7 separate regions of the Homo sapiens genome follow, and all the other regions are linked to region 7. The links are contacts of gene promoters, found by promoter capture Hi-C in blood cells and fetal thymus (Javierre and others, 2016). All regions are on one chromosome and are shown on one strand. The core of a region is centred on a gene start or on the middle of the fragment in contact, and the rest is flanking DNA. Distances in the headings are between cores, read along the strand shown. Region 1 overlaps UBE3D (ubiquitin protein ligase E3D). Region 2 overlaps UBE3D (ubiquitin protein ligase E3D). Region 3 overlaps DOP1A (DOP1 leucine zipper like protein A). Region 4 overlaps UBE3D (ubiquitin protein ligase E3D). Region 5 overlaps UBE3D (ubiquitin protein ligase E3D). Region 6 overlaps DOP1A (DOP1 leucine zipper like protein A). Region 7 holds the start of IBTK (inhibitor of Bruton tyrosine kinase).

Region 1 (3,732 bases), core at 575-3,074, 790 kb after region 7:
AGAGGCTTGCTTTCATTTTCCAAAAATGACGTTAAGGATGGTACCTTTTACTAACTCATTTTTCCTTTCTGGCTCACTGTGAACAAGTAACTTCTTACAAGATTTTGACGATTAAACAAACAAATAAACAAAAAATACCATCATCTGCCTTCCCTTAAGTACAATTGCTTCATGTAAATCACATCTTCTAATTAACTGTATTAAAAGTAATTATTCATCATCCAAAGCTAACACAGCATGTTGTAGTTCTCTAGACACTATAAACCATATCTTTAAACAGCAATGCATTTTAATTATCAGGATTTTCATTATTATATTTTAAAGTAGTATAACAGAGTTTACATAAAATATAATCAATGCTACTGGGGAACCAAAAGAATAAGGGACAAAGTACAAAATTCGGAATTTTTTTTCTTCCATTTCAACAGGTCCTCTCCCATCCCCAGCCCCAAAATACAGCCCCGAGCCAGATGGCAGCCAAGAAAAACAACTTCTCCATCTCTGGGCACCAATTCTTCTAACTGAGGAGGTGTATTAAGAAAAAAGCTCTGTTTCGTGAGTTACCAGGAAGGTAAAATTAAAAAAAAAAAAAAAAGAAGAAGAAGAAAGAAGGAAACAAAGAGAGAAAAAAGCTCCAATTTTCTTGAAATAGGCCCAAGAACAAACTTTATACTATTGCTTTATATCTACAAAGAGGCTATGAAACTCTGAAAATGACTCAACTTCTTAATACTTAAAATTCAATACTCTGTATTTATGAAGGTCAAAATATACAAACTTCTTGGTATATTGGATGGTATGTTACTTGGGGTCTATTTTGAAAAGCACCAATTCCACAACATATATTAATCATCTATCTTTCCTATATATTTACTATAAAATATCATTCTGGCTTTTAAGCAAGAAGCCAATCATTTTGGCTTCTTGTTATGAAATTCTTACCTGATGACACGGTCTCTCCCAACATTACCTTGCAACGCTTACAAATTACTTTGGTATTTGCCTTTGGTTCCTGTAGAACAGAAAAATGTCATTTAAATGTCATTCAGCTTTTCTTAAAAGGAATATATAATTTTAACATAGTCCCCAGAGTATACATTGAACTTTACATTTTATTCTGCCCTCTACTAAATACTGGGAATACATTTAGCTTGTATGCATAATTCACATGCACAGAGAAAATTTTTCAAGTCTTAAGAAACAGTAACACACAGATTCACTTTTCCAAAACCAGCCACTTCTTGATAGTCCAAAAGTTGCCAAATAATTTGAATAAGTAGTACCTTATATTTCTAAAAAGCACTTCCAAATAGCCTTATAACTTAAAACAGGCAGATGGTGGGCAACAAAGACAGGGTTGATGACTTGCCCCAACTCATGTGTATAGAACACAGAAGAATCAGAACTTGAACTCACACTATTTTGACTCCTAGTCCAGTGTAATTTATGTAAAAGTAACCCATAACCCTTAACTACAATAAATGAAAAGTTAAAAATATCTAGTCTGTTCATATACTTCCATTTTTTCCACTTAGGATCGGCACTGTAACTGGAAAGACAGGCAGTGCTCTGGGACAATTCCTGAAACAAACCTAAGCTTCAAAAATCCAAATTCGCTATTTGAGATACAGATTAAAATAGCTAGCATTTGCCTAATCAATAAAGAATATGCCTTTTCCCATCCATAGTTATACCTTTGTTAAAACCATACATTCCTCTCGTCCAGATATACTGTAACAAGGCAGAAGCCATATACAGTGGGCAGGGAAAAGGAGGTTCTACAACTCTGGATACTCCAGGGTACCTTTCCTGGGAAACCACAGAATAGGTGTAGGCTGAAGTAAAGAAGGGCAGTGACTTCTGATGTGGGATAATATGTGTATTTAATCTAAGGAAAAAAATTTTAACTGATTAATATACATTTAAGTATTTTTTCTTTGGCATAAATAATTTCCTGAAAAATTGAATAAAAAGTACATTTAAACTGAGTTCCATGGAAGTGCTGCTAGATTCAGACAGAGCTGATGTCTGAATCTGGGTCTCTCTGATGCTAAAGCTTCTGAACACTATGCTAAGTGTTTTCCAAACAACAGCTCATGTGCCCCATTAGTGGGAACCAATTCATGGAACCAATTCAGTGGATTACTGTGTTTTGTTTTTTTTTGTTTTGTTTTATTTTGTTTTGTTTTGAGATGGAGTCTTGCTCCATTGCCCAGGCTGGAGTGCAGTGGCGCGACCTTGGCTCACTGCAACCTCCGCCTCCCGGGTTTAAGCAATTCTCTGCCTCAGCCTCCCTAGTAGCTGGGATTACAGGCACCTGCCACCATGCCCGGCTAATTTTTGTAGTTATAGTAGAGATGGTTTCACCATCTTGGCCAGGCTGGTCTTGAACTCCTGACCTCGTGATCCACCCACCTTGGCCTCCCTAAGTGCTGGGACTATAGGCGTGAGCCACCACACCAGGCCTACTGTGTTTTTAAAAAATGAAATACAATAGAACAGAAAATATGACAGTGCTTCAAACACTGAGTAAGTACTGCTTCAAGAAACTTTTATTTGAGGTGTGTTTGTGTATGTGTGCATGAGTGTATGTGTGTTATCAGATCTTGATGTAAAAAAATATATTCAATGCTGGGCACCATGGCTCACACCTGTAATCCCAGCACTTTTGGAGGCCAAGGCAGCCGGATCATGAGGTCAGGAGTTTGAGACCAGCCTGACCAACATGGTGAAACCCCTGTCTCTACTAAAAATATAAAAATTAGCTGGGCGTCGTGGTGCGCGCTTGTAGTCCCAGCTACTCAGGAGGCTGAGGCAGGAGAATCACAGGAACCCGGGAGGGGAAGGTTGCAGTGAGCCGAGATTGTACCACTGCACTCCAGCCTGGGCAACAGAGCGAGACTGACTCTCTCTCTCTCTCTCTCTCTCTCTATATATATATATATTCAATCAGGGGTCAAAGTCAAGAGCAACAGCACAATTCATACTGGGGTCTTTCTCTATGGCCTATTCTTTCCCCCAGCCTCAAACACATGCAACTAGTAAAAAAATCCGTAAATGCCTACAGCTCTTCTATTTAAAAACTTCTGAGATGAATCCCTTCATACACTGAATTAACCTTCAGTAACATAAACACTTATTCCATTTTTTCCTGGTCTAGCTGCAGTATTTGGACAGATTCTGCAGCCTTCCTCAAAAGTCTCTGCTGAGGAAACAAAAGCACACATGAACTTCATAAGTCAGTTCAGTCCTGGCTCAAACTTTTATCCAGGCACACTCCCAAAGTGGGCCCCACAGTGTGCCATCTCTGGCCATTGCACTGACATCCTTATCAGGCACATCACAAATGGCAGGTCTCAGAGCCTGACCCAGGTGGGAAACTGGATGGTGTCATACCCATGAGAGGTAAGAGACAGACACAGAAACCTAGGAAGGTGCCAATTTATTCAGGTCCAGGAGGAAGAGAACTCAGAAAGCCAGTATGGTCTACAAAGGGTGCCATTCTGGCAGTTTAATGCTTTCTTACAGTAAAACATACCTGCATGGCTCCAAGTTGATATTAAAAATATTTTTTAAAGAGTACTATTTTATACAAGTTAAATCTGATCACACTCATTAAATGTTACCAAAAACTAAGGGCTTTATTAAAAACTAATATTGGTATTGTAATAGCAATGCTTGAAAAGAAAGAATTTTTCTATTTGAAGCAGAAAATTTTTTTTCAAGTGCTTT
Region 2 (3,400 bases), core at 168-2,667, 750 kb after region 7:
GCTTTGCAATAGAGGTACATGCACCTGGAAGGCTCTTACAGCCATCTGGATAAAAAGTCCCCAAGTGATAATGAAAGAAACTGACTTCTTCCCTCTACTCCAGCTGACTTTAGGATCCAAAGATCATTTTTCAACCTTAATGTCTAAAATAAAAGCAGAACCACAGGAACACTGCAGTTCCTTTACATAATAAATGTCAAATTAAAATTCTGGCAGACACTAAAGATTACGCACCTTTTTCTTTATACTTATCATCTCACATTAGGCCAATACATTTCCTTACAAAATGGGATTACAAAAATCATATGGAAAATCTGGAAGGAAATTTAACTCAGGGCATGTGTCTGAATAAGTGCTAAAACTCCATTAAGGGATTAGAGTTTTTCTTAATATATTTTAAGGGGATCATTTCCCATCAATAATCTTTGGTACTTAAAAAAATTTTTTAAGAAGCTTCAAATATATAATTAAAAGCTTTCTCTTCTACCAGATCTAAGTTTCAGTAAGTGATTAAAAACTATAGCCTCTTTCCAACTCTTAAGTCATTAAAACAGGCCACACAGATTCTACAGTCCATCACTATAATAATACTTAATACAAGAGTTACACAGTACTCTTTGCATGGGGACAACCAAACTTTAACCCTGATGAACTCAACTGTCCGCTTTCTCTGTGCTTGTGCTTAGTAGATGATAAGCTGGAAAATGTCACAGCATAAGAAAGGTTAATATCACTATGAATTTGTGATCATGAACCTCAAATGGGCAATGAACTATGCCTACCAAGTCCACACATTTCTGGTCATCTCACTCATCTCCTTTCCAAATGACCATTTTAAATCTTCTCCATTCTCCTCAAATCTGCAACCGTCCACTACCGTTATCCCTTCTCCCTCTTGTGCCTCCTCCCTCTTTACTCCTATCTTACAGATAAAACAGAAGCCATCAGAGGACAAGTATTTCATCTTCTCAAAACCTATATGCAAATCTTTTCCAGCCACTCCAATACTGATCTCCTTCTGTCCTGTTACAAAAGGAGAGCTATCCTGCTCCTGAGGCTGGTCGGTCCACCAGAGCTTGAGATACCAGACCTTTCCATCTTGTCCTGGAATCCTGCCTCATCAGTCATACCTTCTTTCTCATGTGTAATCAACCTCTTCTCAACAGGACCTTCCCTGTTGGCTTTTATATTTTTTGAGACAGGCTCACTCTGTCATCCAGGCTGGAGTGCAGTGGCGCGATCTAGGCTCATGGCAACCTCTGCCTCTTGGGTTCAAGTGGTTCTCCTGTCTTAGCCTCCCAAGTAGCTGGGACTATAGGTGCACACCACCACACCCAGCTAATTTTTGGATTTTTAGTAGAGACGGGGTTTCACCATGTTGGCCAGGCTGGTCTTGAACTCCTGACCTCAAGTGATCCACCCACCTCAGCCTCCCAAAGTGCTGGGATTATAGGCATGAGCCACTGCACCCAGCCCCCTGTTGGCTTTTAAATGGACTCAAGTCAGTCTAACCCCACCTGCCTACCTTAAGTCAGCTTCCCATCCCCTTCCTCTCTGTTCTGCCGTTCACAGCCAAACTTCCTGAAACAGTGGTCCACACTTACTGTTTGTCATATCACCTCTCATTCACTGCTCACCCATTCCACCCCAGCTCTCATCCCAGGCACCCAAGATAATTCCTGTAAAAGTCACTAATAACCTTTGTAATCTACATCCAATGCATGTTTTACATTCAACATCTTACCTGACCTCTCTCTCAGCAGCGTTTGACTACTTTCTCCTTCTTAAAGCAGTTTCCTCCCTTAGCCTCTAAAAAGCAATACTGTTGTTTTCCTCCTGTCTCACCACTCCTCTATCTCCTTTCCAGACTCACCCTCCTTCAATTAGCCTATAAATGTGGGAGTTCTTCACTGCTCTGTCTTCCATTCTTTCTTCCTAAATAATCTTACCCATGCCATTGGCTTCAATTACAACCAATATGCAGATGACTCACAAATTTACAAATCCAGCCCCAACCTTTTATTTGAACCCCAGGTCTATATATTAACATTCTATTTGCTATTCTCTCTTGAACAACTCAAATGCACCTCAAACTCAACATGTATAAAAGTGAACCAATTATCTTCTCCCAAAACTTTATCTTCTTCCAATATTATCTATCCCAGTATATAGTGGCCCATTCCTCAAATCCAATCAATCATCAAGTATGCAATTTTACTTACTAAGTATCTCTCAAATCTATTGCAGCTACCATCACCCAGGTCCAAACTAAAATAATTTCTCTTAGGCTACTGCAATAGCTTCCTATCTGATCTACCCAAATCCAACTATTCTCTAGATGGTTGCCAGAACAATCTTCCTGAAGCTTAAATTAAACCACCTCTTGCTTCTCTCTGGATAAAATGTTCAATCGGTTCTTATTGTTCTTAGGATAAAGACTAAATTCTTTCAAGTCCCTTTGGGTCCCTGAGTTGGTCTGTCTCTTCCCTACTCTATGCCTGTTTCTCTCTCTCTCTATTACAGCCACCCTGACCTTCCCATCCCTTGTACTCACTGTACTGCCTCCCACCCCTTGCCTAGAAGCTCTTCACAGTAAACTCCTTCTCCTCCTTCAGGCAGCAGTCAAGCATCAATTCTTTTTTTTTTTTTTTTGAGACGGAGTCTCGCTCTTGTTGCCCAGACTGAAGTGCAATGGGGCGCTCTCGGCTTACCGCAACCTCCGCCTCCTGGGTTCAAGTGTTTCTCCTGCCTCAGCCTCCTGAGTAGCTAGAATTACAGGCATGTGCCACCACACCTGGCTAATCTTGCATTTTTAGTAGAGATGGGGTTTCTCCATGTTGGTCAGGCTGGTCTCGAACTCCCTACCTCAGGTGATCTGCCAGCGTTGGCTTCCCAAAGTGCTGGAATTACAGGCGTGAGCCACTGAGCCCGGCCCAAGCATCAGTTCTTCATGGACTCCTATCCTGACCCAGTTGGTCTCTCTCTGATTTGTTCTCATAGCACCATTTATCTCTTCATCATAGCACTGATCAGTTTGCAGTTTTACATTTACTTATTTTTCCTGCTAGATTGTAATAAGTCTGTGATACAAGGTCTCTTTTAGCTCAATATTAAATTCCTAATACCTAGCACAAGAGTACACATTTAATAAGTATTTGCTGAACGAATCAATGACCTTCTCTAATACCTGAAGTTGAAAACTTTTCTATTAGTTGTCCAGATTCTATGGATTCTTACAATTCAGCTTCTTTTGTCTAGTTTCATTGAAAATGCCTTATCCCTTTATATATAAATTTCCTACAGCAGCCTTGTAGGATGTAGCCTTAGCTTTAGCTTCTCTCCAGTTCACCTCTTACTACACAAAATTAACAGGATGCTGGGCAATATCTTCTTACAGGCA
Region 3 (3,667 bases), core at 935-3,434, 850 kb after region 7:
GCTTTGGAAGTTTTAATTCAAAGAAATAACAATGCTTGAAAAATATAGTTATCGCCATGATTATCAGCTATAAAAACAGAAGAGAAGGAAGCAAATATGCTAACTATGAGGGCTAGTAAATTTCTGTAATGGAGCATCAGATATGGTGCTGGAATTCCTGGCAGCAAAATGAAAACCTACAAATGGAAAGCAGTAATTCCTGTGTTCTTTCCAAATGATATATAGCAACAAGGAAACATTTTCTATCCTGGCAAGCTATAGTTATAATTTGGTACTTTTTACAAAGGCGAGTATATACAAGCAGTTGCTTACGCCTTGCAGCTTGTCCTTGAGTAATTCTTCTTGAGACATGTCTGGTTTTTATTCAGTTATTGTTGTGGCATCATTGATCAACCTCTGGCGCTTCATTTTGACCTTTTTATTTTTTAAACATCAATTTTTTTTACTGCATACCCATAGTTAAGGTTTTTTTTAAATTGTTATTGAATGGGAGTGTTTCTAAATATTAAAGAGGTTACATAGGAAAGGAGTGGCCTTCCAATAACTTATTCTATTTTATTTTATTTTATTTTATTATTTTATTTTATTTTATTTTATTTTATTTTCATTTATTTTATTTTATATGAGACAAGGTCTTACTCTTTCACCCAGGCTGGAGTCCAGTGGCATGATTATAGCTCATTGCAGACTCCTGGGCTCAAGGGATCCTCCCACCTCAGCCTTCTGAGTAGGTGGGACTGCAGGCATGCCACCATGTCTGGCTAGTTATTTTTTTAGAGATAGGATCTCGCTATGTTGACCAGGGTGGTCTTGAACTCTTGGCCTCAAATGATCCTCCCACCTCAGCCTCCCAAAGTGCTGGGATTACAGGCATTAGCCACTATACCCAGCCTATCAAATAGCTTAACATACAAATTAGGAAAGAAGTTTGTCTTAAAATACATACTAAGATGTGTGGGGGAAGAAAACACAGATAGTTTTTCCTCTGCTCTCACCACGACAATCAATGCAGAAGATTTCTATAACCCTAAAACAAGTGGTTATTTCTCCCTTACCAGCAAGCAAGCAGTTCTACAGTAGATACCAGCTGGATGTGCTGCAGTTCAATTTGGACACTATCTACCTGGAGATAGTATCAGATCCCACAGGTTGAGGGCTGAGCCTCATAAGACTGTCCTCCTGTTTTGATGCCAATCACAAGCCCTAGTTTGTTTTACCTGTGCTTCTGATCAACTGGCTATAAAGTTCCACAATCCTTTCTTTAGCTTTAATTTGCTAGAGCGGCTCACAGAGCTTAGGGTACTGGTTCATTATAAAGGACATTACAAAGGATACAAGTGAAGAGATGCATAGTGTGAGGTATGGGTGAAGGGACGTAGAACTTTCATGCCCTCCTCAGGAGTGCCACCCTCCAGGAACCTCCGCATGTGTTCAGCTGGCCTGGACACTCTCTAATCATCCTTTTGGGCCTTTTGAGACTTCATTGGATAGGCATGATTGAAGCATGGACAGCTGTGTAGAAATGTGATAGGAAAGAAAAGATATGATGTAATACTAACAGACTAAGTGGGGGAACCCAGCAAGGCCCGTCTGTCAGATTTTTCTTGGCCTCTCTACAGCATTCCTTCCTTCTGGGTATGGGGCAGGACCCCTTCTGAAATAGGGGTCTTTGACCTACAATGAGACCAAGTAGTCCAGAGAATTTTGTTACGGCCAGCTCCGAGACAGGGGAAGATTCCTGCCTTAGGGAGAAAAAGGAGATGAGAAGAGGGCAGGAAAAGTCAGAGAGAAATTGTTTTCTGAGGCCTGCTTCTGAGGCCCAAAGTTCCCCATATTATAATAAGGGCTGTGGGAGTTATGAGCCAGGAACCATGGATGAAAACCTACAGACACACTCTCACTCACAATACCACACCAGGACACTAGTTTTCAACCTGATACGACAGATAATCACTTTGATACCATAAAAAGAAAAGTTACCATTTTCAGTATGTCAAGGATTTGTCTTAAAATTTGATTCAGAAGCTTCTCTTTGATGTTAGAACTTCTAACATTTATCTTTTGAAGTTTGAATAATTCTTTATTCCTTTACAACATCCACAAGAAATTCCATCTAAAAGTACAAGTTTGCTTAAAGGTAGTTAGGTTCTTTTTTTTCCTAAAGAGTTTTGAAGAGTCTGTTTCTGAAGATATACTGGGAACTCTTTTTAAAGGCAAGTCATTAAATGATGGAAATTAATTTGCCTAATTAGGTACATAATTAGTTTTTTAGATTAACCAATATTCACAAAAGTAGATTTCATGGTATCTAGATAACTCAAAGAAGAATACCCAAGTTGTTTATGAAGCTTAGCCAAAATTGTGATAGAACAAGGCAAGGATTGCATATGTGTGTGTGTGTGTGTGTGTGTGTGTGTATATACATATATATATATATATACACACGTATACATATATATACACATACACATATATATATGCTCTATTACATATATATACTCATACCGCCTTTGATGGTCATTTCATATATTATGGCAAAAAAACACAATTACTTTTGCACTAACCTATTATTTCAACCTCAGTTTATTCTGTAAAATAAGACTTTGCATATTTCTTCTAAATTCCAGTTCTAACATAGTCTGTATTCATTCTGAGTCTTCACTTTGTGACATTCTATCAATACTTGATTATAATACTGACTTCTAGGTTCAAACTAAAGGATTACATTTATTATAAGATCTTCTTTACTTAACTAATCTCCTTTGAGTGGTTGGTAAGATAGGGTCTCTGTACAGAAATTCTGCCCTGACCATTATTTCTAAGGAAATGTTATGGTTGAATAAATAAAACAAAAAGTTGTTTTGTCCAGTTAGAAAAATCAGTTTATAAAAACAAATGGGCAATGATAATCTCATGTAGATTTTCTTATAAGCATTAGAATTACTTGCTGTAATTTGATATACTAGGACAATGGTTGTACCTCTTCCAAGTACTGTAAATATCTACTTTGAGGCCAGACTTTATTTCAAAGTAGCAAAAATGGATTGAAGGCTGTAACTTTCCATGTTACATGTTCATGTAACATTCCAGCTGTCTTCTCACATCAAATATTAAAAATTTACCAAAAAAAATCTAAAATACCTCTCTTCTCCATAAATTTGTTTTGGAAAATATCATTTTTCATTAAAAATGTTATTCTGTTAACAGGTAACGAGTTTATTTTTTAAACAAATTAATAAAGTTTGTAACATTTCCTCAGTTTTAATTTTAAATATGGTATATATAGGCAAATGTAGCTAACAAAACACAAAGACCTACAATGATCATTTTTTATAATACTATGCTAGAAAATGGAAGTAAAATGAATGCAATATTTTGTTTTTCTCAACTACATTAAAATGCTTTCTTCAAGGTTTTACAAAATAATGCAAAGTACCAAGTAGTACCCAAAAAGCTGACCATAGGCAAACGCCTAGCTCAATGTCTACATCCAGCATTACCAGGTGGAGTTCATCGGAAGGCGCTTGAAACATATGAAATTATCTTCAAAATAATTGGACCTAAGCGACTTGCCAAAGATCTTTTTTTATATAGGTAAGAATAATTTTACTATATATATACAAATAATATAAAGAAAATGTATTGCTAAACTATTTTATACTTTCTG
Region 4 (3,543 bases), core at 282-2,781, 770 kb after region 7:
ATGGGTGCATCAACCCAGTATGGGGTCTGGGTGGCACACCAAGAATGCCCACTATAAAAGATAAATTAGTACAACTTTTTTGCAAGGTGATAATTATCTGAGTTTCAAATATACAAATTCTTATATTACATTAGAAAGATCCATTTCTAAAGAAGTACTAAAAGACACAGGCAAAGATTATTTTCATTGCAGTTCAGTCTTATCAGCCATACAGCAAAATTCCAGTCATTAAAGAGCCAGACCTATATTTAAACTAATAAAAACAATCCTCATGATACATACTGTGAAGCAAGCAGGTTGCAGAAAAACGCTAATCATGTGATACTGTTTTTTTTTTTTTTTTTACAAATAGACAAACACCTGTGAGTGTACATATATATAGTTGTATATGGAAAGAATAAAAATAATGAAGTACACATATCAGACTGTTAATACTGATTGCTCCCTGAATAGTATGATATAGCAAGGCAGGAAAGGGAACACTTTATGTTCTTCATGTTCCCTGATTGTGTTTCAAGAATGTTTTACTTTTATAAAAAAGAAAAATCTAAATATATGTTAGAAAGTTTCAGAAGTTCCTACTCCCGATCTTCAATCTGAAATCTTACAATAAAAGAAAAAGTAAAACTGATTTCAGAAAACTGTGAGGTATATTTACTATCAAAATCAGTCAGAAAATATTTTAGGTTTTCATGGAAATTATCTGCAATTAGAAAAGCATAGTGTCCCCATAATGGATGGCCAGCTACAGAGTCACACCTAACAGCAACTTCAGGCCCTTCCCTCCTTTTTGTTACTATGTTTCCCTATTAGCTTTTTAGTCTCATGAAGGCATTTGTGTTCTACCTTGAGCACCTGGAACAGTGTCTTTCATATAAGAAGTGCTCCATACCTGTTTACTGGTTGAATAAAATAGATGTAGAAGCAGAGAAGATACTTGGGCTATGATTCTTGACTATCCAGATAAATGCTCAAAATTTGCTTCTGCAGGACACTGTTTTTCAGAGGTAGTGTAATATTAGGCTCTAGTGGTACATGCTGGGATGATTGCTAGCCACAGAGCCTCTTCCTCAAAAATTGCCACTGTTTCTCAAATATCACAGAATCAGAGGCAATTAAAAACAACAGAAGAAGGCCAGGCATGGTGGCTCATGCCTGTAATCCCACTATAATCCCAACAGTTTGGGAGGCCAAAGTGGGAGGATTACTTCAGCCCAGGAGTTTGAGACCAACCTGGGCAACATAGCAAGACCTCGTCTTCACAAAAAATTTAAAAATTGTCTGGGAATGGTGGAGTAGGCCTGGAGTCTCAGCTATTCAGAAGGCTGAGGTGGGAGGATCACTTTAGCCTGGGAAGTCGAGGCTATGGTTAAGTCATAATCATGCCATTGCACTCCAGCCTGTGTGATAGAGTAAGACCTTGTCTCAAAAAAACAAAAAACAAACAGGAGCAATAGGACATATTCTAAACATAAGAGTACTAAATAGGAAAAAAAAAAAAGTGGGACAGAATAGTGTTATAGTGACCCCAAAAAAGCCATTACAAACTGAGAGTAAAAAACTTGATTTTGGCTGGGCGTGGTGGCTCATGCCTGTAATCCCAGCATTTTGGGAGGCCGAGGTGGGTGGATCACGAGGTCAGGAGATCGAGACCATCCTGGCTAACATGGTGAAACCCCGTCTCTACTAAAAAAATACAAAAAAATTAGCCGGGCGTGGTGGCGGGCGCCTGTAGTCCCACCTACTCGGGAGACTGGGGCAGAAGAATGGCATGAACCCAGGAGGCTGAGCTTGCAGTGAGCTGAGATCACGCCACTGCACTCCAGTCTGAGCGACAGAGTGATACTCCATCTCAAAAAAAAAACAAAAAACAAAAAAACCCTGATTTTGTGGTATGAGCTTCTAAATAGCAGGAATCAGGATTTTTCTCTGTATCCGTAGTACCTAGTACATAGAGGCACTTGATCATCTGTTATTAAAATAAAGGAGTTTGATTTATGAATTAAACTGATATTAACTTTTTTTTTTTTAAGATGGAGTCTTGCTCTGTCACCCAGGCTTGAGTGCAGCGGCACCATCTTGGCTCAATGCAACCTCCACCTCCTGAGTTCAAGCGATTCTCCTGCCACAGCTTCCTGAGTAGCTGAGACTACAGGCATGGGCCACCATGTCAGGCTAATTTTTGTATTTTTAGTAGAGATGGGGTTTCCCCATGTTGGCCAGGCTGGTCTCGAACTCCTGACCTCAAGTGATCCACCCACCTTGGCCTCCCAAAGTGCTGGGATTTCAGGCATAAGCCACCGTGCCCAGCCTGATATTAACATTTTTAATCACTTATTTTCCACACCTGAGAATTAAGAAAAAAGGATGAAAAAACTGAAGAATTCTGAGACCTTGGATTCCTAGGCTACAAAAAGCTGGATAAAATAATTTCTTACCAAGATATACACTTTGTCATCCTGACCTTGAATCGTGAATCTAAAAGTGCTTCTAGCAGAGGAGAGCTGCACCAGACACTGGGCGATCACGCTCTGGACAAACCAAGACCTGTTTGAACAGAAATCAATTTTTACAATGTGTATCTCATAATAACTCTAACTGGCAAGATAAGCAAAAAATACACACACGGTACCTAAAAGGCAGACATATCCACATGCCAGACTTTTCTACGGACTGCTCATTCCCTCAGAATCTGCACTGATGTGGATTTTAATATATTTTAATGTATTCAGGTTTGCTCCATTCTTCTTAAAACCTATTCTCCAATCCTTGATACACTTTCCACACCAAACCTAACTATTCACCCCTACTGAATAAAAAAATACCATGTTAGAACAAGTCAATACTCCATTTGTGCTGTAGCATATTAAACAGAGAATAACTAACTTACAAAAGAAGGCAAGAAATTTCCTTCCAAACATCAGACAGTATTGTCTACATTTTCTTCCATTTGGATCTCCCTAAAGTGTCAGCTCTGAGGTACAGAATCAAAGTATTTACATAAGGATAAGTTCAAGGCTATACTCAAAGATTGCTATAATTTTTGGATATCAACAAATAAACTGGAATAAAGACATATCATGGTTAACTTGTTTGCAAACTAAAGAGTCAAAGAAATAAAAACACTAATAGATTTAGTGACTAAGTACCATGTTTTTAAAACATAGGAGTCATTTGAAACTGACCCATGTTTCAAATTTTAAATAATTCAAATTAAAACCAGAAATTATTCAAAAAACTTATTGGTGACTGGGTGATAAGATTCTAGATATCTGGCACATAGAAATAAGCATAGAAAACTTTCAGAATTAGAAGATTTATAAGAGCACATTTGTCTACAGCACTATATGATCAAAACATTTTTTAAAATCCTCAAAACTTTTATATGTGTGGTTTGGTTCAACTATCAAAAAGGCTTTCTCTTTCCTTTTCCAAATAAAGAAAGGTATGAATAAAAATGAATTCCCATATGATCAATTGTACTTCCTTTTTCCTACATTTGGAATTACAAATATATGCCATGGAATACTACTTAGCCACAAA
Region 5 (3,414 bases), core at 846-3,345, 820 kb after region 7:
ATACAATAATTTCATACTTGAGGCTTTCTTCACCATTGACTTGTATTCTGTCAGGTATCACAACTGCTTAAAACTATCCAATGACTTCATCTCTCACTCTAACTACAAGCTAAAGTCCTTTCGATGGTCCATAAGGCACAGTGGTATAGCAGGCCCTGCTGCTACAAGCTTTGGAGAACCTGTTGTTAAAATTCTAGGAGTTCTGCAAAGCAGGTCAACTCACCTCACCCAGTTGGTAGGCTGAAGGTCATACGTGGTGAAAGTATTCACACCAAAGAAATCAACAAATGCTTCAAATCAAGACCTTAGTTTGTCTTTTTGTTTATTTTCATGGAGAGTAGGTTATTAAACATGTACCAGCACACTGCCATAAGATCTTTTACTATGTGTTCCCCCAACTCACCCGCATCTCTCTGAACTAGGCACCCTTTCATACTCACTTTCTCTCAAAGGGAAATTGTCTCCCACCAGGTATGGCAGTTCTACACCTCACCAGTTACAGTTTAATACTCAAATGTTAGTTTCTCATTTGAAATAAAAGATTGTAACTTTTTTCTCCCCATTCCTTTTTTGTTTAATTTTTTTCTCCACTTCTATCAAATATATATTTATTTTGTATATTCTCTGCCGCCTCTTCTCTACTGCCACCATTAAACCCTATGCTCAACAAAGGCAGGTGTTTTTGTCTTTGCTGTTGTTACTGTTCATGGCTGTATTCTCAGCACTTAGAATTTGAATTTTTGGCACTAGAGTAAGAACACAATAAACATCTGTGGATTGAATAAATGAATGGCCAAAGTTTATCCCAAAATGCTAAGATATCTTAATATAAATAGATCTTTACATCTGTGAATGTAAACTTTGGAAGCCAGACTCTTTTTCACAACCCACTATGGCAGGAATTAATCCATTCCTGAGAGAGAACTCACCCAACCATCTCCATGGGAGGGCATTAATCTATTCAAGAAGAATCTGCCCTCAGGAACCACGCACCTCCCACTAGGCCCTATGTCTCAACACTGCCACATTGGGGATCAAAGTGAGAAAACATAGGGACAAAACACATCCAAACCATAGCAGTTAGGAACAAGAACACCAATATTTAAATTAACTATAAAATATACTAAACATTTTAATTAGAACACACAGATCATCAGAACAGATTTAAAATCACCCAACTATATATTTTTAAAACTAGCATACAGTTTTATGCTATTTTTAGGGAAATACAGTATTTTTACAGCTTTTTGCTTTATACAGAAAGACATAAGAAAGGTTAAAAAGGTAGAAAGGACACACTATGCAAACAGTATAGTCAACTGATTTCTCATGAAGACTGAGTTATTTTAATGGGAGAAATGATGGCCTTTTCAACTGATGGTGATAGAATAAATGAATATCCTTATACCAAAAAAAGAACTTTGATCCCTACTTCACTGCAAACACAAAAATGAATTCAACATGATCACAGATCAAAATGTGAAAGCTAAAACGATATAACTCCTAGAAAATAAACCTGCCAAAACATCTTCACAGCCTTAAGGTAGGCAAAGATTTAAGACACCAAAAAAACTAACCCTTAAGGAATAAAAAAACGATAGAGTGGACTTCATTAAAATTAAAATTTCTGTTCATCAAAGGACACTATCAAAAAAACGAGGCAGGGCATGGTGGCTCATACCTGTAATCCCAGCACTTTGGGAGTCCAAAGTGGGTGGATCGCTTGAGTCCAGGAGTTCAAGACCAGCATGGGCAATATGGTGAAACCCTATCTCTACAAAAAAATACAAAAATTAGCTGGGCATGGTGGCATGCAACTTGTATCCCAGCTACTCCAGAGGCTGAGGTGGGAGGATTGCTTGAGCCCAGGAGGTTGAGGCTGCAGTGAGCCATGATCACACCACTGCACTGTAGCCTGGGCAGTAGAGCAAGACGCTGTCTAAAAAAAAAAAAAAAAAAAAAAAAAGAAAAGAAAATGAAAAGTTAAGTCACAGATAAGAATAGTCATATATTCACAAGGCATTTATGTGAGAAAGCTCTTGTTTTGAGACAGTATAAAGAACTCTCAATTAAACAAGACAAATAATCTGATTATGGGCAAAAAAAATTAGAAGATACTTTTAAAAAGAACATATATGAATTGCTAAAAAGCAAGTGAAAAGGCACTCAACATTATTAGTCATCGGTAAAATGAAAATTAAAACCACAAGATACTATTTTACACACACTAGAATGGTTCAAACTAAAAGGACTGATAATACTAAATGTAAGTCAAAATGTAAAGTAGTTGAAACTCATTTTTTTTCTGGTTGAACGTGCAAACTGGTACAATCACTTTGGAGAACTGTTTGGCAATTTCTCACAAAGTAACATGCACATCTATCCTATGACCCAGAAATTTCACTCTTAGGTACTTACCTAAAAAGAAATGAAAATGTATGTCCAAAAAAAGATTTATACAACAGTGTTATGACAGCTGTATTCATAATAAGCAAACTCCAGAAACAAGAAAAACATCCAGCAATAGGAGAACAGATAAATGAATTGTGGTATATTCATACAATGGAAAACTTAGCAAGAAAAAGGAATGGACTACTGATATATGCAGCCACATAGATGGAACGTGAATCTGAAAAATATTATGGAAGGAATGCAGCCAGAAACAAAAAAGTATATATTGTATGAATCCATTTATAAGTAGTTCAAGAAATGGCAAAACTAAGTCCAGCAAAGTTAGGTTTCTTTTTTTTTCTTTTTATTTTTTATTTTTTGAGACGGAGTCTCTTTCTGTTGCCAGGCTGAACTGCAGTGGCGCGATCTCAGCTCACTGCAACCTCCGCCTCCCGGGTTCACTCCATTCTCCTGCCTCAGCCTCCTGAGTAGCTGGGACTGACTAAAGGTGCGCGCCACCACACCCAGCTAATTTTTGTATTTTTAGTAGAGACAGGGTTTCACCATGTTGGCCAGGATGGTCTTGATCTCTTGACCTCGTGATCCGCCCGCCTCAGCCTCCCAATGTGCTGGGATTACAGGCATGAGCCACCCGGGTACCTTGCCTAAACAAAGGAGAGTAGTCCAAGGGAACTGTGAAAGGCCCCTGCATGAGAGGAAGGGAGGGTTTGTTGTGTGTGTGTGGTTTTTGTTTTATTTTGGTAGGGTTTGGGTTCCTAATTACTCTACAAGGTGCACCAGAATTGGAGATATTTGTCCAAATTCATAAATTTTGAAAGAGAAAAAGAAATACATTCAGAGTACTATTATTCCCATTTCAAGATTGAAGAAATTCAGATTAAATTATTCTAATTTCGTGAGGAAGCTAGCATTTGAACTCAGTTCTCACGCCATATTCCAAATTGCCACACCAGATATCTGGCAGATTTAGGGAAGAGGAAAAAATTAAGCATCAATCTACCT
Region 6 (3,608 bases), core at 431-2,930, 830 kb after region 7:
TTGCCTAGGTTTTGCTTAGCTGGGACAGAAGTGTGAATAAGATTGAAGGAATGGGTCTATTTTATGAAGGCTTTATATGGCTAACAGCTTGCATTTCATGTCTAAGAAAATGAATATCACAATTATAGCAGTAATAAGAGCACTTCTTATACGCTAAGTTAACACTGAGCTAAAGAGCTTTCCAGGGATTATCAAATGTACTTTTCTGAGCTTCCAGCAGGGAACATGCTCCACCTGCTTTTTCCTGTGTAAAATTAATTGGCTCTTGGAGAAGGTGAAGGTAGTGAAAATAGGTTGTTGACATAGTCCAGGTATAAAATAGGCATGAATTAAAGACCATTCTGAAAAATGCACATTTGTAGACTTTATTAAACTGCTCCAAATGAAATCGCACAAGTACAAACTTGTGTAATTAGGAAGATGATGGTGCTGTTGACAGTAATGAAGGAAAACAAGGAAATTCAGAAAATAATAGCAGTGCTTGACAGACTTTACAGCATTTCTTGGAGTGATATTCTGACAACAGAGGTACTGTGAAATGGAAAGTGAGGAGAGGTGTAGTAACAGTTTATGGTTTATCAGTATTTTGGAGGGTGCCTATGTTTTGTAGAGATTTTTTACAATAATTAAGCAATACCTTATTTTGGTTCTTATTCTATTACGTGCTTCAGAATCTGCAAAAATATCTAGAGTTAATTCTCTCTTACAGAATTAACACCTCAGCAAAGTTATTTTGTTCTTTCATGATGAGCATTATTAATATTGTTGTTTTGTTACCATCTTAACCTTAAAACATGAGAGGGGATGGACATTGAAGGGTTGTAGGAGCTGGGGGAAGGTCTGCTGTAGGCTGTACCCCATTTTTCTCTGTAAAGTATCTTGATATCCTCAACATTAATTCTAGTTTACTTTGTCCATCAAGGGAGTTAACCCTTGTGCAAGGCTACTTTCTGTCACCATTCTTTCACAGATTTTGGAAACTGATGTGCACAGATACATGCATGGTCTGTGTCCAGGGTGAACCCTTTTTTAAAAAAGCATCTTTAAATAAAAGTACTCAGCTAAAGTGTTGGTGACTTCCTGTGTAATATTTTGATCTTATCTTTTAAATACATAGGCATGATTGAATTTGCATCTCAGTGAATTTTTTTGCATGTGTGCTTTTTCTTATGATTTTACTTTTGGAACAGTCTTAATAAAATGGGCAAAGAAAAACGTTAAAATTCCATGGGATTTTTTTTAATGGGAAAAATTTGTTTCTACTGGCTGTGATTAAAATTTGTTTACAGATATTCAGTTAAATTGGAACACACTAGGAAGTATAGAAAAATGTTTGGCTAGTATGTATAGTACGGCATTGTTATGTTAACTTATGTAAAAACCAGTCTTTATTTGAAAATCCAACTCTGTAGTAAGTTAATAGCATACTATTTATTTTTTAAATGCTGAAAACGTTAAATTACTAATTTTTAAATATATTGGTTAGATTTTATTTTGCAAATAATGATTTGATTAACTTAATATGGGTTTAATTATGCTGTAAAAATTATTTTTGCTTATTTCACTTTATTTCTAGTAGTATGTTTTAGCATATGTAAAAGTTTAAGCAAAATCATTGTCATTAAATGAAGAATGATAGCTACAAATAAAGATACTTTGAGAAAGGTACTTTCTGATGAAAATTTATGTTTCAAATAAGCTGGAAAGAAATACATGGTGGGATAGTTAACAGTTAGTTATTCCTCATCTTGCGTTTCACCTCTCTAATCATTCTGAATAGCAATGCATTCATTTTTATCATTATTCTCATGTCTTACCTTCTGCTGTATATAAAAAATAAGCCATGTTTTCTTTCTTCTTCCAAACTATTAATAAAAGCAAAACAGAATGTGGTCAATCTAGATAATTTAGATGTTCTTTAAGTGTACTATTCTGATATTTACTCTTAGGCTGATTTTTTTTCCCCTGCCATCTAAAATGTTTGTTTCATTTCCCCCTACCCAATCAATGTATACACAGTGAAATCAAACATTTTAATGTTAGGAAAAACAAAACATTAGAAAGATATGTTTGAAAAAAGCAGATATATCCTAAAAGCAAAATTTAGTTGTTTGGGATTCTGTTTTACATTATCCACACAACTACTTCTTTCTATAGATACTGTTAATACAATGATATATGACTAAACCAGAATATTAAACTATCAGTGATGTTCACAGGTTTCATCAAAATAAGGAAAACTTCCTTGATATATTTGTTTTCTGAACTATCATTTTGTCCCCTCATAACTAATAACCCTCAGGAATTATATCTCCCTTTGCCAAGAGAAAAAACCTGTCTTTAGTAGGTCCTATAAAGCATCCCTTAGGTGCTTAATAATAGAATTTGTGCACTAAAGCATACTGCTAATCCAGCAAGAATCCTGTCATCAGCCCTGCACATCCTAAATTTGGGGACAGCCACATCTGTAATACTGTTTTTGGATGTGTAACCCAACCTGCAGTACCTCTGTAGTATTTCATCCCACTTCAGAGCATTTTTACCTCTTAGGAATTATTTTCTAGGGAGGAATAGATTGTTGTCTTTTATGTTCTGTATATAGTTCCCCTTGTATATAGGTTCACCACGGCCATTTATTGAATTAAAATCCCTGTTTTATAATGTCTGTGTCACCCAAAACAATCTACAGATTCAATACAATTCCTATCAAAAGACCAATGACATTCTTCACAGAAATAGAAAAAAGAAAATCCTAAAATTTTGTGGAACCACAAAAGACCCCAAATAACCAAAGCCATCTTGAGCAAAAAAACAAAGCTGGAGGTGTTCTACTACCTGACTTCATAATATACTACAAAGCTATTGTAACCAAAATAACATGGAACTGGCATAAGAACAGACAGACTGACTAATGGAACAGAATAGAGAGCCCAGAAATAATTCCACACATTTACAAACAACTGTTGGTTTGTTCGTTTGTTTTTTGAGACAGAGTCTCACTCTGTTGCCCGGGCTGGGGTGCAGTGGTGTGATCTCACCTCACTGTGGCCTCTGCCTCCAGGTTCAAGCGATCCTCCTGAGTAGCTGGGATTACAGGCATGCACCACCATGCCCGGCTAATTTTTGTATTTTTAATAGAGACAAGGTTTCACCATGTTGGCCAGGCTGGTCTCCAACTTCTGGCTCAAGTGATCCACCCACCTCAACCTCCCAAAGTGCTGGGTTTACAGGTGTGAGCCACCATGCCCAGCCCTACAACCAACTGGTTTTTGACAAAGGCAACAGTAATACACAGTGGGGCAAGGACATTCTCTTCAGTAAATCGTGTTGGGAAAACTGGATAAACTGCAGAACAAAATTAGACCCTTATCTCTCACCATATACAAAAATCATCTTGGGTTATAAAAAAAAATAGGACCTGAAACTATGAAACTACTAGGAGAAACAAGAAAAGCTATGTGACATTGATCTGCACCATGATTTTGTATCTATGATCTTAAAAGCACAGGCAACAAAAGCAAAAATAGACAAATGGGGTTATATGAAATTAAAAAGCTTCTGCACAGCAAAGGAAACAATTAGCAGAGTAAAGAGACAACCTACTTACA
Region 7 (3,479 bases), core at 980-3,479:
CAACTGCACTCCAGCCTGAGCGACTGAGCGAGACTCCTTCTAAAAAAAAAAAGAGTACCATATGTGTTGGCCTGATAAATTCTGGGTGAGAGCACATTTGAAGCAGAAGGGATAGTAAATATAAAAGAACTAGAATCATCTTGGTCCATTCCAAAATTTCTAAATAATTCAGAAGACAGAAAGAAGTGAGGCCTAACATACACACAAGGATAGACAGGATTTTGAACAGCCTTATGTGCCTTTTCTTAGAGATTTAAAAAAAAAAGGGCAGGCAATCCAAAGACATACTTAGGATCTTGAATTGACAAGATGTGGTGGTAATTCCCAGGTTTCTGGCTTGGAGAACAGATAGGGAAACTAGAAAGAAGAGTAAGGGGTCAATACTTTGGAAGTGAGTAAAGCAAAACAAAATTAAACAACGGAAAAAACACACAAAAATTATAGGTGAAATTTTGTTTTATACATTATACACAGTGCTCTACATAAATATAATCCTTATTATTGCCCCTGTAAATATGATCACTTTCATTTTCTGATGAGGAGATTCATGTGAAAGTTTAAAAAGCCTACCTAAAATAATACCGACAGAAAAGTGCTCTTGATCCCACCTATTCTATGCTACCAAACTGCTCTCCCAAAAGGCAGTTAGAAAAATTTCAATGCAAGTAGTATAGTGTAGTAGAAAAAAGTACCATGGAATTCAATTCAAAATAATTGAATTCAAAAGCAGTTTGGTAGGGCAGCTGGAGACTCAAGCGATTCTGCCTCAGCCTCCCGAGTAGCTGGGATTACAGGCACACATCACCATGCCTGGCTGATTTTTTTGTATTTTTGGTAGAGACGGGGTTTCACCAAGTTGGCCTCGAACTCCTGACCTCAAGTGATCCGCCCACCTTGGCCTCCCAGACTGCTGGGATTACAGGCATCTTTTTTTTTTTTTTTTTTTTTGAGATGGTGCCACACTCAGTCGCCCAGGATGGAGTGCAGCGGCGCGATCTCGGCTCACTGCAACCTCCACCTCCCGGGTTCAAGCAATTCTCAGCCTCCCCAGTAGCTGGGATTACAGGCGTGAGCCACCGCGCCCGGCCTAAAAAATTTCTTGAAGTAAACTCTGGTTTGACTAAAGCTTCTGCAAATATTTGCAAATGTAATTATTTTTAGAAACCAGTTTTGTCCTCATCTACCTTGCCTCAATTTCTAAAACAAATAAAAGTTAAGGAATTCAAAATACAAAAAGAGAAATGATCAAGAGGGGGCTGGCAAGCCTGTGAATTTACACCACTTTATGGGCACTGAAACACTACTACTCATAAAAGTCATATCCTTTCAGTATTTCTGATAAATTTCAAATGGCCTACTTCGAGGCATAAGTTAAAAGGTGCTACATGAATCTCTGGCTAACACAGTCAAGTTTTATGAACTACGTTGGAAAACAGGAGTCAAGGACGGCCTATGTTACCTAATTCGCAGCTGAACTAAAACTCTTTGAGCCAGACAGCTCTGCCTGTTACAAAAACAAAGGGCCTGTCTTCTCTGTCTCTCTCAACCCTCCACCCTCCAAAAAGAATCAGTTCCTTTTTACATAGCAATCAATGTCCACTTATCAGATTTCACGACCTGCTTCCCCAGAGTCAGTATCCCCAGGGTGGACTCAAACTTGTGACTCCAGGAAGGGGATAAGGAACATGAGCGCCCACAGGAATGGCTTCAAATCCAAGACTCGAAGGAAAGTGACACTACATAACTATCACAACTAGGAATGCAATGTCGCTGGAGGGCGTGTCCAGCAGGACGGGAGCGTAGCGCATCGCCGGGACAGGCCATTCATTAGCTGAGGGGGGCGGTAGGGACCCTGGCCACTCGGCCCTCTCCGCGCCGCCTCGCGCGAAGCCCGGCAGCCTCGGGGCCACAGAGTCCCCTCCCCACGGTCCCCCCGCGCCGCCGTCCGCAGCCACCCGCACCCTCCAGAAGGCGAATACTCTCCCCCTGCCCCCGGGCTGAAGGGAAGCCGCACCGCACGGTCGGGCAGCGCCAAGCCCTCCCTCACCAGTCGCTAGATGAAACTGCGCCGGTGGATTCCGCAGGGTCCACATAGAGCCACAAAGGGACTCATCCTCAGTGAAGGCAATAAGAGAAACCGAACGGCGCCAGAGGGGCCAGTCCCCAGACCCGGGTCAGTTCGGCAGGCGGCTGCAATACAGCCGCTACTACAGGAATCGGGAACGGGGATGTAGAGGAAGGGCCCGAGCGGGCGGTTCCCAGTAATAAGGCGGGCGCTGGTTGGCTGGGGCTCCTGTATGTCTCTTGATGATTGGCTGGTGCCTGCCCAGAAGGTTTCGCGTGGCAGCACCTCTGCCATGGCCTTTTCCCTGGCGCCCCAAAGGAACTTGACCTCGCCGGCCTTGGGGCCGCTGACTCAGGCCAGGGGCGGGGAAAAGAAAAAGGCCGCAGCGGGGAACTCTAGGCCAACAACGGTGATGGGAGTGTCCCTTTCAGGCCAGCCATCTCGTAGTTAGAAACGTCTCTCTAGGTAGCTGGAGACTCGCGGGGGAGGCTAAACCCGAGTGGAGAAGGAGACCTGGCAGGATGCCTTGGACACCCGGTCGCTACGCAGCAGAAGCCAAGTGCATAGGCGTCCTGCACAGAAGAGTTTCCTCCCATGGCCTTAGCAGTGGGGTTACTGCAAAGCCAAAGGTGTAGTCTCCGTAAACCCAGCCTCACCCCTCTCTGGATCTCCATACACCCGGATTATCTGGCAGTCACTCCCTTGGTCAGAAGGCGTCACTGCCCTCTTAGATCACCACCGTAGGACTAGCTGCCGACCCGGGTCACGCCACTCACTGCCTGACACCAGGCTTACACTAGGCTTTTTCCACTTGAACTCTGAATCTAAAGGCCATTTAGAAAGTGGTCAAGTGAAAAATGCTAGGAGGGACAGTAGCCAATAATCAATACTAGGTTACTGAATGGGAAACACACTGCTGCTGAATGCCTAATACGGTAAGCACTCAGTAAATGATTGTTCAAGGAGGTGTAGTGTGACTCAAAACAAACGACACTAAGAATCATGAGTTGGCTGTACAGCTCTGCCACGTTGAGTTTTACAAGCCACTGAGTCGACCTCATCTAATCTCTAAAAGAAAGGAGTTGCGCATGTCTTAATGCCCACTGAGCTCTGCTTGCTCTCTTTTGAAGCCTTTTTTGTGGGAGGGTAGGTTACTAGCCCAAAGCCACACAGCTGCTTAGCGAAAGAGAAAGGGAGACTAGGACCCAGCCCTCCTACTGCCCTTCCCAGCACATAATTGTTTCTTTGCTCTTTATTCTTAATGTCCTTCTACAAAACAAAAACCAGTTTGTAATGTCAAAATTGAGTGGTTTTGAAAATAAGCTTAAGTTGGCCGGGCGCGGTGGCTCACGCCTGTAATCCCAGCAATGTGGGAGGCCGAGGCGGGCGGATCACGAGGTCAGGAGATCGAGAC

What was found. Contacts are between HindIII fragments. The CHiCAGO score rates a contact against its expected background, and 5 or more counts as called.
Region 1: a contact is called between a fragment that was not itself captured here and the fragment with the promoter of IBTK in region 7, in 16 of 17 cell types (M1 macrophages, endothelial precursors, megakaryocytes and 13 more). The highest score is 15.4, in M1 macrophages.
Region 2: a contact is called between a fragment that was not itself captured here and the fragment with the promoter of IBTK in region 7, in 4 of 17 cell types (non-activated CD4 T cells, total CD8 T cells, total CD4 T cells and 1 more). The highest score is 9.4, in non-activated CD4 T cells.
Region 3: a contact is called between a fragment that was not itself captured here and the fragment with the promoter of IBTK in region 7, in 12 of 17 cell types (total CD8 T cells, M2 macrophages, monocytes and 9 more). The highest score is 13.8, in total CD8 T cells.
Region 4: a fragment that was not itself captured here is called in contact with the fragment with the promoter of IBTK in region 7 in 11 of 17 cell types (total CD4 T cells, activated CD4 T cells, M2 macrophages and 8 more); the score reaches 11.8 in total CD4 T cells.
Region 5: a contact is called between a fragment that was not itself captured here and the fragment with the promoter of IBTK in region 7, in 16 of 17 cell types (M2 macrophages, non-activated CD4 T cells, total CD4 T cells and 13 more). The highest score is 58.9, in M2 macrophages.
Region 6: a contact is called between a fragment that was not itself captured here and the fragment with the promoter of IBTK in region 7, in 14 of 17 cell types (total CD8 T cells, monocytes, fetal thymus and 11 more). The highest score is 20.1, in total CD8 T cells.

The regions. Positions count from the first base shown.
Region 1 is chr6:83,037,474-83,041,205 of GRCh38, forward strand. It overlaps UBE3D (ubiquitin protein ligase E3D), which reads right to left. Exons shown (of 10, transcript NM_198920.3): 5 at 943-1,012. Among named protein-coding and RNA genes, the nearest start is that of UBE3D, 27 kb to the right of the region's middle. RefSeq lists an enhancer at 460-1,659. The HindIII fragment of the contact is 459 bases long and covers 1,596-2,054 here.
Region 2 is chr6:82,998,210-83,001,609 of GRCh38, forward strand. All of the region lies in intron 8 of UBE3D (ubiquitin protein ligase E3D), which reads right to left. Among named protein-coding and RNA genes, the nearest start is that of UBE3D, 66 kb to the right of the region's middle. RefSeq lists a silencer at 2,843-3,034. The HindIII fragment of the contact is 1,891 bases long and covers 473-2,363 here.
Region 3 is chr6:83,097,293-83,100,959 of GRCh38, forward strand. DOP1A (DOP1 leucine zipper like protein A) reads left to right here. Exons shown (of 39, transcript NM_015018.4): 4 at 3,413-3,594. Among named protein-coding and RNA genes, the nearest start is that of DOP1A, 31 kb to the left of the region's middle. The HindIII fragment of the contact is 323 bases long and covers 2,024-2,346 here.
Region 4 is chr6:83,020,015-83,023,557 of GRCh38, forward strand. It overlaps UBE3D (ubiquitin protein ligase E3D), which reads right to left. Exons shown (of 10, transcript NM_198920.3): 7 at 2,439-2,547. Among named protein-coding and RNA genes, the nearest start is that of UBE3D, 44 kb to the right of the region's middle. The HindIII fragment of the contact is 5,372 bases long and covers 1-3,543 here.
Region 5 is chr6:83,061,472-83,064,885 of GRCh38, forward strand. All of the region lies in intron 1 of UBE3D (ubiquitin protein ligase E3D), which reads right to left. Among named protein-coding and RNA genes, the nearest start is that of UBE3D, 2.7 kb to the right of the region's middle. The HindIII fragment of the contact is 3,859 bases long and covers 167-3,414 here.
Region 6 is chr6:83,078,155-83,081,762 of GRCh38, forward strand. The region is part of intron 1 of DOP1A (DOP1 leucine zipper like protein A); the gene reads left to right. Among named protein-coding and RNA genes, the nearest start is that of DOP1A, 12 kb to the left of the region's middle. The HindIII fragment of the contact is 3,746 bases long and covers 1-3,553 here.
Region 7 is chr6:82,245,515-82,248,993 of GRCh38, forward strand. IBTK (inhibitor of Bruton tyrosine kinase) reads right to left here and starts at 2,230. Exons shown (of 29, transcript NM_015525.4): 1 at 2,048-2,230. RefSeq lists a silencer at 1,863-2,032. The HindIII fragment of the contact is 2,262 bases long and covers 1,125-3,386 here.